Linked DNA regions of Homo sapiens: region 1 is linked to region 2. Evidence: promoter capture Hi-C in human tissues and cell types (Jung and others, 2019). All regions are on one chromosome and are shown on one strand. The core of a region is centred on a gene start or on the middle of the fragment in contact, and the rest is flanking DNA. Distances in the headings are between cores, read along the strand shown. Region 1 holds the start of ZNF668 (zinc finger protein 668). Region 2 holds the start of CDIPT (CDP-diacylglycerol--inositol 3-phosphatidyltransferase).

Region 1 (4,385 bases), core at 1,061-3,560, 1.2 Mb before region 2:
GAAAAGGCCAGTCTCGTGGGTCCGACGATGGTTAACCAGGCTCCCGGGGTGACGGTAGCCCCGCCCACACTGCTGACAACGGTAGGGCCGAGGGATGCTGTCAGCCTCCTCACTGTCCTGGTTGGGAGATGGATGGAGCAGTTCTCGGTGCCGAGAGAGCTCTGGGAGGCTGGGAAAGTGGCGCTGACAGTCGGAGCAGCTGAGTGAGGGGGGTGTGTCCTCCATGGGGCAACGTAGCAGAAACCTGGAGGTTCAGAAGGAGCAGACACGTGGCAGCACCTTCCTCTGGTGGAGGGGCCAAGGCCTAGGAAGAGGGGGCAGTGGTCAAAAGGAAGGCCTGAATTAACTTCGCCTCTTGGCTCTACGAGCAACAAGTTCACCTGAGGTCACTGAGAGGTTCCCCAAGCATCCATGCCCAAGGACCTAATTTCTACTAGATCCAATCTGCAGGCACCATCATTTAAGGCTTCCCTGTGCACAAGCTTCCCAAATATAGGAGCTCCCCTAGGCTTAAGTCATCCCTACAGGTATAGCTAAGGAAATTAAAGTTGAGAGAGATGCAACCTACTTCTGATCACAGACCTGTTATGTTCTTCAGACCAGACTCAAAAGGCATTACTGTCCTTTAAGAACAGTAGGAATCTGCTCCCTACAATCCTGAAACAAAAATTTTCTGTGACATCTTAAAAGGACACCAAAACCTTCTCTAGGCCTTTCAATAAGAGAAGTCCAAATCTTCCTACTTCATCTCTCAGCTAAACAGAGTAGCTGAGAAGCACTGAAAAAGCAGCTGTTTCCTCCAGTTAATAGCTGAGGACCTGAGAGGAGAGGTTAGAGGCCTCCTTCAGGGAAAGGGCTGGCTTGTTCCCCCACCACCCCGAGTCATTTCAGTGTCACAAGGTCTCTTTTCCTTGTGACAAGAGAGTTAAGAGAGTTAAGACTCTCTTAACTGGGCCAGGTGTGGTGGCTCACGCCTGTAATCCCAGCACTTTGGGAGGCCGAGGCTGGTGGATCACCTGAGTTCAGGAGTTCAAGACCAGCCTGGACAACATGGTGAAACCCTGTCTCTACTAAAAATACAAAAATTAGCCGGGCGTGGTGGTGGGCACCTGTAATTCTAGCTACTCAGGAGGCTGAGGCTGAAGAACTGCTTGAACCTGGGAGGTGGAGGTTGCAGTGAGCTGAGATCCCACCACAGCACTCCAGCCTGGGTGACAGAGCGAGACTCCATCTCAAAAAAACAAAAAACCCCAAAAGACTCTCTTAGCGACTTCTTTTATCTACTTCCCTTGAACTCAAACTATCTTCCATCTTGGGAATAACATCAATACCAGGTTGTAATGTCACTTCATTGCCTACCTTTTCTCTCCCATGCCTCCTGATCTTACCCTCACCAGTCTTTCTCATTTTTTTCTTCTGCCTCCTCTCTTAATACTGATGATGACAGCAACTCATGAAGAGTATTATATTACCATGTGCCAGGCACTGTGCTAACTATATTCATTGTGTTACTCAATCCTCAGAACACACGGCAATGCCTGTTATTCTAGTTCACGTAACAGCAAACCCCCTGACTGAGGCGGTCTTCATCCCAAAGCCCTTGCTCTCTCATGCCCCCTACATCGTCTTGTCCTTCTCCAACTCTGACTCTTCTTCCCATGGGACCCCAGTACAACTGTCTCCGACCGTAAACCCCTTCACTGAACCTGCCCCCGGAATTCTCACCTCACAAAGCCCCTTTGATCAAAAGTCCCCTCCCCTAGTCAACCACCAATGAAGTCCTCTGACCTCACTCATCTCGTCTGCCAATTTCCTCTCAGGACGCCTACCTCGCACCGGCGGCCCCCTCTCCTTCCCGCCGCGGGCGCGTCAGTTGGGGACCGCGAACAAGAGCGCGCCTGCGCACTGGGACCCTTACCCTAACTGCAGCCGCGCGCCCCAAGGGGTGGCTGTCGGGGGGCTCTCGCGCTCCCACACACGCACACTCAGCCAGGGTTCCCGGGAGGTGGGAGGGAAGGGAAAGAGGGAAAGGAGAAGGGGGGAAGAGGAAGGAGGTAGAGAAAAGAGGGCGCAGCTGGCATGAGCCAGGAGTCTACTCCCAGCTCTACGGACACTTCCTATTGTTACTAGGAAACAGGAAGTGTCCTTAGGTGCAAAAGCTTCCCCGCGAAACTTCCGCTTCGGGAGCACTGCCTGTCCCGCCTCCGAGCCGCAGTTTTACGCAGACACACTTCCGGCGCTAAGTTCTAGGTCTGCACGGCTGACTCCGCCCACGTAGGTCACAACGCGGCGTCTTTGCACGCTAAGCTAGCCACACTTCCGGCAAGAGCAGCTAGAATCGTTCCGGTGCATATTGAATAGGCGCAGAAAGGGAGAAAAAGATTCTACAGCCCTGGCCACAGTACTTTGGTGACACTTTTCGTGGGGCTCTCTGGAGGACTTTTCCCAAGGCAGATGGAGAAAACTTCGTGAAACCCACTCCTTGCTATTAAAGGAAATGTTGTGGAATATAATTGGACTTAGGTTTTGCAGAGCTTGAGCATGGCCTTTTTGTCCTCCCACCTTCTGGTTCTTGAAGACATTGCCGGTGACCTGGCCCCAGACTAACACAAGGCGGGCGTATACCGTCAGCCTGCCTGGCGTCCCCTTGCCTCAGCACACACAGAGACCTCTTGCAAGATGCTTCTCTGCCGCCATAGGCTGGAGGTTCCCCGGGAACTTTCCCTTCCTTCCTAGCTGAGGAAGATCCCTCACTTCCGCTCGCCGCGCCACCGGTCCCACCTCCCCGCCCCCCGCTGGGTCCTAGCGCCGGCCCCTGTTTGGCAGGGTCCGGGCTCCGTCGGTGCGAGGAGCCGACGCCGACGCCACGGAGTCAGCACAAGTCTCATCAGGTAGGAAACGTCGGCGGGAAGCCGCGAGGGCCCCGGGCAGCTCCCACGCGGCCACGATCCGAGCTGGCCTCAGTTTCCCTGCGGGCGCCGAGGGCGGGCCGGGTTGGCCCAGCGCGAGCAGCGCGGGCGGGGCGGGCTGTGAGCGGCCCCGGGCGCATTGCGGGCCCAGCAGGTCCTAGAACCCGCCGGCTGTCTCCGCGGTTCTGGGCTGCGGACACCCAGGCTCGGCCCGCGCGGCTGCTGGCCCGGCGCGGTGTGGTCCCGGGGGTCCTAGAGCCCGCCATGTTTTGGGTTTTTGTCCCGGTCGCGTGGCCCGCGCTGCAAGATCCCAGGCGCCGGCGGCCCCCTCCCCTGCTGAGGCCCGGCCACCACTCCCGCGGTCCTAGAGAACGCCATCTTGCAAGCCTTTGTCCCTCATTCGGCCTTCCGTCCATTCATTTGTTCATCTCCTCATCCTTCGTTCAGTCCTCCTTGCCACGTCCTCCGAAGCCACGTTTTCTGAGGCTTATAACCGGGGTCCTGCCCTCCAGGGGCTGCCTGGCTGGCGGGGGCGCCGCGTACAGACGGTTGCGAGGAGCGAGGAGCTCCGGGTTTCTGCAACTCTCGGCTCCTCGGCGCGCTTCGTAGGCCCCACCGCCCTTCAAACTCCCACAAACTTAAGGGACCCCATTTTACTGATGAGGAAACTGAGGTCCAGAGCGGCGTGGGGCCCTTACCTCTCTACTGCCATAAAGTATTCCTGAGGGCACTAGGGAAGGGGGTTCTTGAAGGATGTAAAGGGGCTTTCCCGTTGGAGAAGGCAGGCAAGGGCTCCCCGAGCCCAGGAAACTGCATCTAGAGGTGGAGGATTGAGAATTGTGGCTGGAGGTTCGGTCGCTGCCGGGAGGAGGACTCTGTCGCTGGAGCTGAGGCTGGAAAAGTAGGTTGGGATCAGGTTGTGAACTGGCCCGGTAGGAGGCCTAGGATATGATTAGCGCTCACTTCTGCAGGGTTCATCCGCTCACTACGTCACTCCTGGCCGTGAGGCCTGTGTGGTGACTGCTTGTTTAGAGATGGGAAGATTGAGGTGCCTCCTTTTTCTCCTCATCCCTGCCCCAGGGTCCTAGCCTAGGATTTTTGGAAATTGAATCTTTGCTTGCCTAGTGAGACAGCAGAACTTCATCCCCTTCCTAAGCCAGTAGTGAGGCAAAGCAAGGCTTCATCGCCACGACAGGGAGCCCACTGTGGGATATTGGGGCAATAGTTGAGCCTTGTGGAGTTGGAAAGGTGGAGGAATTTAGTTAATAAACAGTTATTGGTGGACATTCTCACAAACTCCTACTGTGGAGGAGGCAGAGGCTACAGACCTGGGTTCAAATTTCATCTGAGGTTGGTTCTTTCCATTTGTTTTGGGTCACCACACAGGGTTCTGGGTGTAGAGGAGGCAGATGATCGGTTTCCTAGCCCTTTGCCAGCCTGGACTCTGGTGCTGGTGATGAAGAATTAACAGCCAAA
Region 2 (4,738 bases), core at 909-3,408:
AGGAGATGGTGGAAGAGAGGGGAGAGGGCTGAGAATTCAGAATTTGAGGATCAGGGCAGAATAGAATGGAAGTGCACGGTTCAAAAATTCCCCCACCCTGCTGGGATATTGTGAAACCCTCACTCTCTCCCCTCCAGGTTCCTCACCTCTCTCCCAGGACAAAGAGCATCTCCCTTGAAGCCTCACTCACCAGGTGTCTGTGCCTCAGGTCTTGGTGAAGAATGCTGGAAGTAGAGGACCTAGTCAGAGAAAGGACTATCCCCGTGGCCAGAAGAGATGCGGCCAGGGCAGACGGGGCTAAGGGGATTCTCGGCCAGCAGTGAGGAGTGGGTACTGGGTTAGCGGGTGAGAGGGGCATTTCACAGGTCCTAGGGCTGGCTGTGAGATGGATGAGATGGGCACAGACTCCTGGAGAGTTCAGCTAGGGGTGGGAGGGGTCAGGGACTGTAACCAGGCATAGTGGGGGCAGCGGTTCTCTAGACACGGTGGTCCTGAGGCAGGGGGTTACCGCGTTTGGATATCTGAGTCGCTTGGTCTTGTGACTGCTTTTTTTTGATGGGCACAGGGTTCAAGTGGCAGCAAGCAGTGCACAAAGCCTCCTCCATGAGTTCTGCACTGATCTGGGACAGGTATTCCTCAGAACGAGATAACGAAGCCTGGGAAAGGAAAAGCCGGAGGGGTTCAGCCTGGGAGCTCCCACATGGGAGTGCTGGCTGTGGGAGTTCCCAGGCTGGGGCCTGTGGGTCCAAGGAGCTTGCTCCTGAAGGACTGGGCCTTGAGATTTAGCTAGAAAGCTCTGGACCTGGGGGAGGGGGGTTTGGTGGGGGTTTAGAGTCAGGGCCTAGTGCTGAGAGCTATGAGTCGGGGCTTCAGGACTCAGGGTTGAGGCTAGAGTCTCAGGGCCCGTGGCTCAGACCTGGCACGGGGTGCCTCTGCCTGGGAGGCTTTCACTTCATTACATTCCCACCTCTAGGGTTCCCTGCAGTGCTCACCGGACCTCCTCTCAAGGAGGGTGCAGCTTGAGATGGCCAGCTGCTCTTCTTCTCCCCCTCATTCCCCATCGGAGTGGACGCCATCCCCCTGGGAACAGTCGAAGCCTGAGTTGACCTGAGAAACCAGCCCGCTTTCCCCCAGAACCCAGTCCACCACCATTCCCCGGGCCCAGGTTTAAACAAGGCCTTTAGAGGAAACATCCCGCTGCCTCATTCCCTCTCACAAGAAAAAATAATAATAATAATAAAGGTTGCTTTATATCTTCGGGAGTGAGAGGGAACTCCCGCAACCCCCTACCCCTCACCCCTTCGCCTGGTGGGCCTCTCCTTCCTTCTTCCCTCCCAAGCACCTTCCCAAGCCGAGGCAGCCGACTTGACGCCCCAGACCTGGCAGATGGGTGGAAACCTTGGGCTACTCGGCAAAAGGAGAGACGTGGAGGCCTAAGGACCTCTGGTATAGGTCGTGGGGGATGGAGAATGGGAGATGGGGAGGAAGGCTGGAAAAGGGGGAGCCGGCTCCGTGTCGCTACCGGACGCTATAAAACCCTTGGAGTCTGCAGAGGTTCCGCAGCCTCGTTGCTAGGAGATCAGGGGTTCTAGAACTAAAGACAGAGGAATTTCCTAGCGCGCCCCGTTTGCTCCTCCAGCCTCCCCTCCGTACCCCTCCAGGTGCCTCCTTGAGGGCAGTGACCCCAAGCGCCAGACGCTTGAGAAGCTTGGGAGGATGACGTAGGGTGGAGCCTGCGACCTAATCCTCCCATCACAAGGGGCACGCGAAAAGCAACCCATCTGCAGGGCGCTCTGGAGCCTCTCTAGCCGCCTAGAGCCTGCGAGAGCAAAGGCGGCTGGAGACTTAGGGGGCGGGGAGTAAAGTGAGGACTGCACCAAATCTCCTGGCCTCTTGGGGACGCAAAGACTCAGGAGGAGGAATTTTATCGCCTTATCTTTGCCTCCAGGAAGTCATACCCTCCACAAAAGGAAAGCAGAGATTTTTATTCGGTCTTCTCTTTTACCCTTTCCTTTTCCGTTTCTAACTTTGCTTGACGTTAATGGTTCCTTCCTCCCTCTCCTCCTCTGCGCTTTGGTACGAGCCAAGGGAGAGGGGCGGAGGGAGGAAAAGGGAAAGGAAGCCGACAGGCCTTAAAGGGGCCGCAACTATTTTTTTAAGCCACTTTTTCCTCTCTCCAATTTTGCAACGACGGGCGCGGAGGAGGAGGTTCCCGGAAGCCACGCGCAGCTGGAGCAGCGGCGACCGCAGCTGGAGGCCCGGAGCGCCTGCGGGGCTGGCAGAGGCGAGGGAGGTTGCGGGTAGGAAGGGCGGACTGCGCGCGCCCCCTGCGTCCCGCGCACCTCGGGGCCGGTCCATGCTCCCGACGGCTGCGGGCTTCAGCATCTGGGGCCAGGTTGGGGCGGCGGGGTCCAGGGCGCAGGTGGTGCGGCCGATGCGCCGGGCCGGAGGCTGAGGCCGCGCTGCGGGGCTGGGACAGCACTGGCATCTCCAGAGCAGGCCCGGGGCAGCAAGGGAGGCGCCGCGATGCCAGACGAAAATATCTTCCTGTTCGTGCCCAACCTCATCGGTGAGTGCTGCCCACGGCCCCGGGCCGAACGAGAGGGCGAGGGGCCTTGGCGGGCTCCCTGATCCTGCCCTGTCTCCCCGCGTCCCGTTCCAAGGTTATGCCCGGATTGTCTTCGCCATCATTTCTTTCTACTTCATGCCCTGCTGCCCCCTCACGGCCTCCTCCTTCTACCTGCTCAGCGGCCTGCTGGACGCTTTCGATGGACACGCTGCTCGCGCTCTTAATCAAGGTGACAGACACCCCTCTCAGCCAGCCTTGGGGTTCAACAATCCCCTCCTCCCTTCCCCTGCCTCCTCGGGACCTCAGAGTCAGAGGGCTGTCATTCCCATCTCTGGAAAAAGCAGAACAGGATGGCCTGGGGCTTTTTGTTTTGTGTTTTGTTTTTTTGTTTTTGAGACAGGGTCTCGCTCTGTCACTTAGGCTGGAGTGCAGTGGCGCGATCATGGCTCACTGCAGCCCCCATCTTCTGGGCTCAAGTAATCCTCCCACCTCAGCCTCCTGACTAGCTGGGACTACAGGAGCGTGCCACCACACCCGGCTAATTTTTAAATTTTTGTAGAGACTGGGTCTTGCAGTGTCGCCCAGATTGGTCCCCAGCTCCTAGCCTCAAGCGATCCTCCTGCCTTGCTCCCAAAGTGCCGCGCCCAGCAAGAATGGACTGATTTTGTAGCAAAAGGAATTTAAGCTAGCTCTTGAGAACTCACTGCTTGTGAGAGGTGTGGATTAGCAAGACATGACATGGCGGTGGCGCTGCTGGAGGTCTCTCTGAATACAAGTCCATTCAGGCCAGGGGCGGTGGCTCACGCCTGTAATCCCAGCACTTTGGGAGGCCGAGGTGGGTGGATCACGAGTTCAGGAGTTCGAGACCAGCCTGGCCAACATGGTGAAACCCTGTCTCTACTAAAAATACAAAAATTAGCGGGCTTGGTGACGCGTGCCTGTAATCCCAGCTACTCGGGAGGCTAAGGCAGGAGAATTGCTTGAACCCGGGAGGCGGAGGTTGCAGTGAGCCAAGATTGCGCCATTGCACTCCAGCCTGGGCGACAGAGCAAGACTCTGTCTCGGAAAAAAAAAAACAAAAAACAAAAAACAGTGTATTCAACAGGTGTTTACTGGAGGCCTACTGTGTGCCCTGCATAAGCAGTTGGGGTTCCAGAAGGCATGCTTAGAGGGAGGATGGAGAGGGAAGGGTGATGGCTTCTGGAGGGTTGACTAATTTTTTAATCTGTTCTCCAGACCCAACTGTAAGGCTTCCCCTGAGGCATCAAGTCTCTATCTAGCCCTGGAGTCTTGGTTCTGGGGTTGATGAGTTGCAGACATAGCTTTCCTCTCCTCCTACCCTGTTCCCTCCACTCTCATGCCTTTCTCAGTTCATGCCATGGTGACCTTTGCCCACTGACCTCACACACAGCCTGTTTTCTAGCCTGCGTTCCTCCCCAGGCAGGCGGACACTTCCAGTCTTCGTTTACACCCTGCGTCAGAGTGATAAACCAAATATGGGCACCTGTCCTGCATCCACTGTGCCATAACAGCCCTTGCCCACCTAATCTTCCAGGAACCCGGTTTGGGGCCATGCTGGACATGCTGACGGACCGCTGCTCCACCATGTGCCTGTTGGTCAACCTGGCCCTGCTGTACCCTGGAGCCACGCTGTTCTTCCAAATCAGCATGAGTTTGGATGTGGCCAGTCACTGGCTGCACCTCCACAGGTCTGCTGCGATTCTGGGGGCCTGGGCCACTTGGAGACATTACAGTGGGGTGGGCTGAGCCTAGACGGAAGGGTGTCTGGGATGGCACTAGGCATCCTGGAAGGGCTCCTTTTTAGCTCTGCTTTGTAGAAAGACCCCAGGCAAACCTGCCTCTCTTTAAAGCTTCAGTCATGTTTACAGTTGCATTAAGCAATTCTTAGGACTCTTCTGGCTGGGTATTCTAGGATTCCATATAGGTGACAGCTTATAGGAAGGGGCATGGGAGCTTTCAAATGTGGCATTTGAATCCTGACTCTGCCCCCAAATAGGTAACTGTGGCTTTCGGCAGGATACTGGTCCTTAGCCGTGCCCAGTTTTCCATCTGTACAATAGGTGTTAACATGAGGATTGGATGCATGGTAGTGGTCATGAAACCTTGTGGGTTCCCCTGTTTTCTCCCCAAGTTCTGTGGTCCGAGGCA

What was found. The method cuts DNA at HindIII sites, captures the fragments that hold promoters and counts their contacts. A contact is called where the count stands out against the background at its distance.
Region 1: the fragment with the promoter of ZNF668 here is called in contact with the fragment with the promoter of CDIPT in region 2 in 1 of the 25 tissues and cell types used here (hippocampus).

The regions. Positions count from the first base shown.
Region 1 is chr16:31,072,165-31,076,549 of GRCh38, reverse strand. It overlaps ZNF668 (zinc finger protein 668), which reads left to right and starts at 2,310. Exons shown (of 3, transcript NM_024706.5): 1 at 2,310-2,891. It overlaps ZNF646 (zinc finger protein 646), which reads right to left and starts at 2,128. Exons shown (of 3, transcript NM_014699.4): 1 at 1,919-2,128; 2 at 1-304. The coding sequence starts at 225. RefSeq lists enhancers at 1,362-1,894, 2,250-2,389, 1,895-2,428, 3,048-3,342, 2,634-3,434 and a silencer at 2,700-3,159. The HindIII fragment of the contact is 1,997 bases long and covers 1,322-3,318 here.
Region 2 is chr16:29,860,646-29,865,383 of GRCh38, reverse strand. CDIPT (CDP-diacylglycerol--inositol 3-phosphatidyltransferase) reads left to right here and starts at 2,158. Exons shown (of 6, transcript NM_006319.5): 1 at 2,158-2,569; 2 at 2,664-2,798; 3 at 4,125-4,278; 4 at 4,722-4,738. The coding sequence starts at 2,527. It also overlaps the pseudogene CDIPTOSP. RefSeq lists enhancers at 1,500-2,037, 4,193-4,731 and silencers at 2,086-2,145, 2,156-2,465. The HindIII fragment of the contact is 6,529 bases long and covers 1-3,074 here.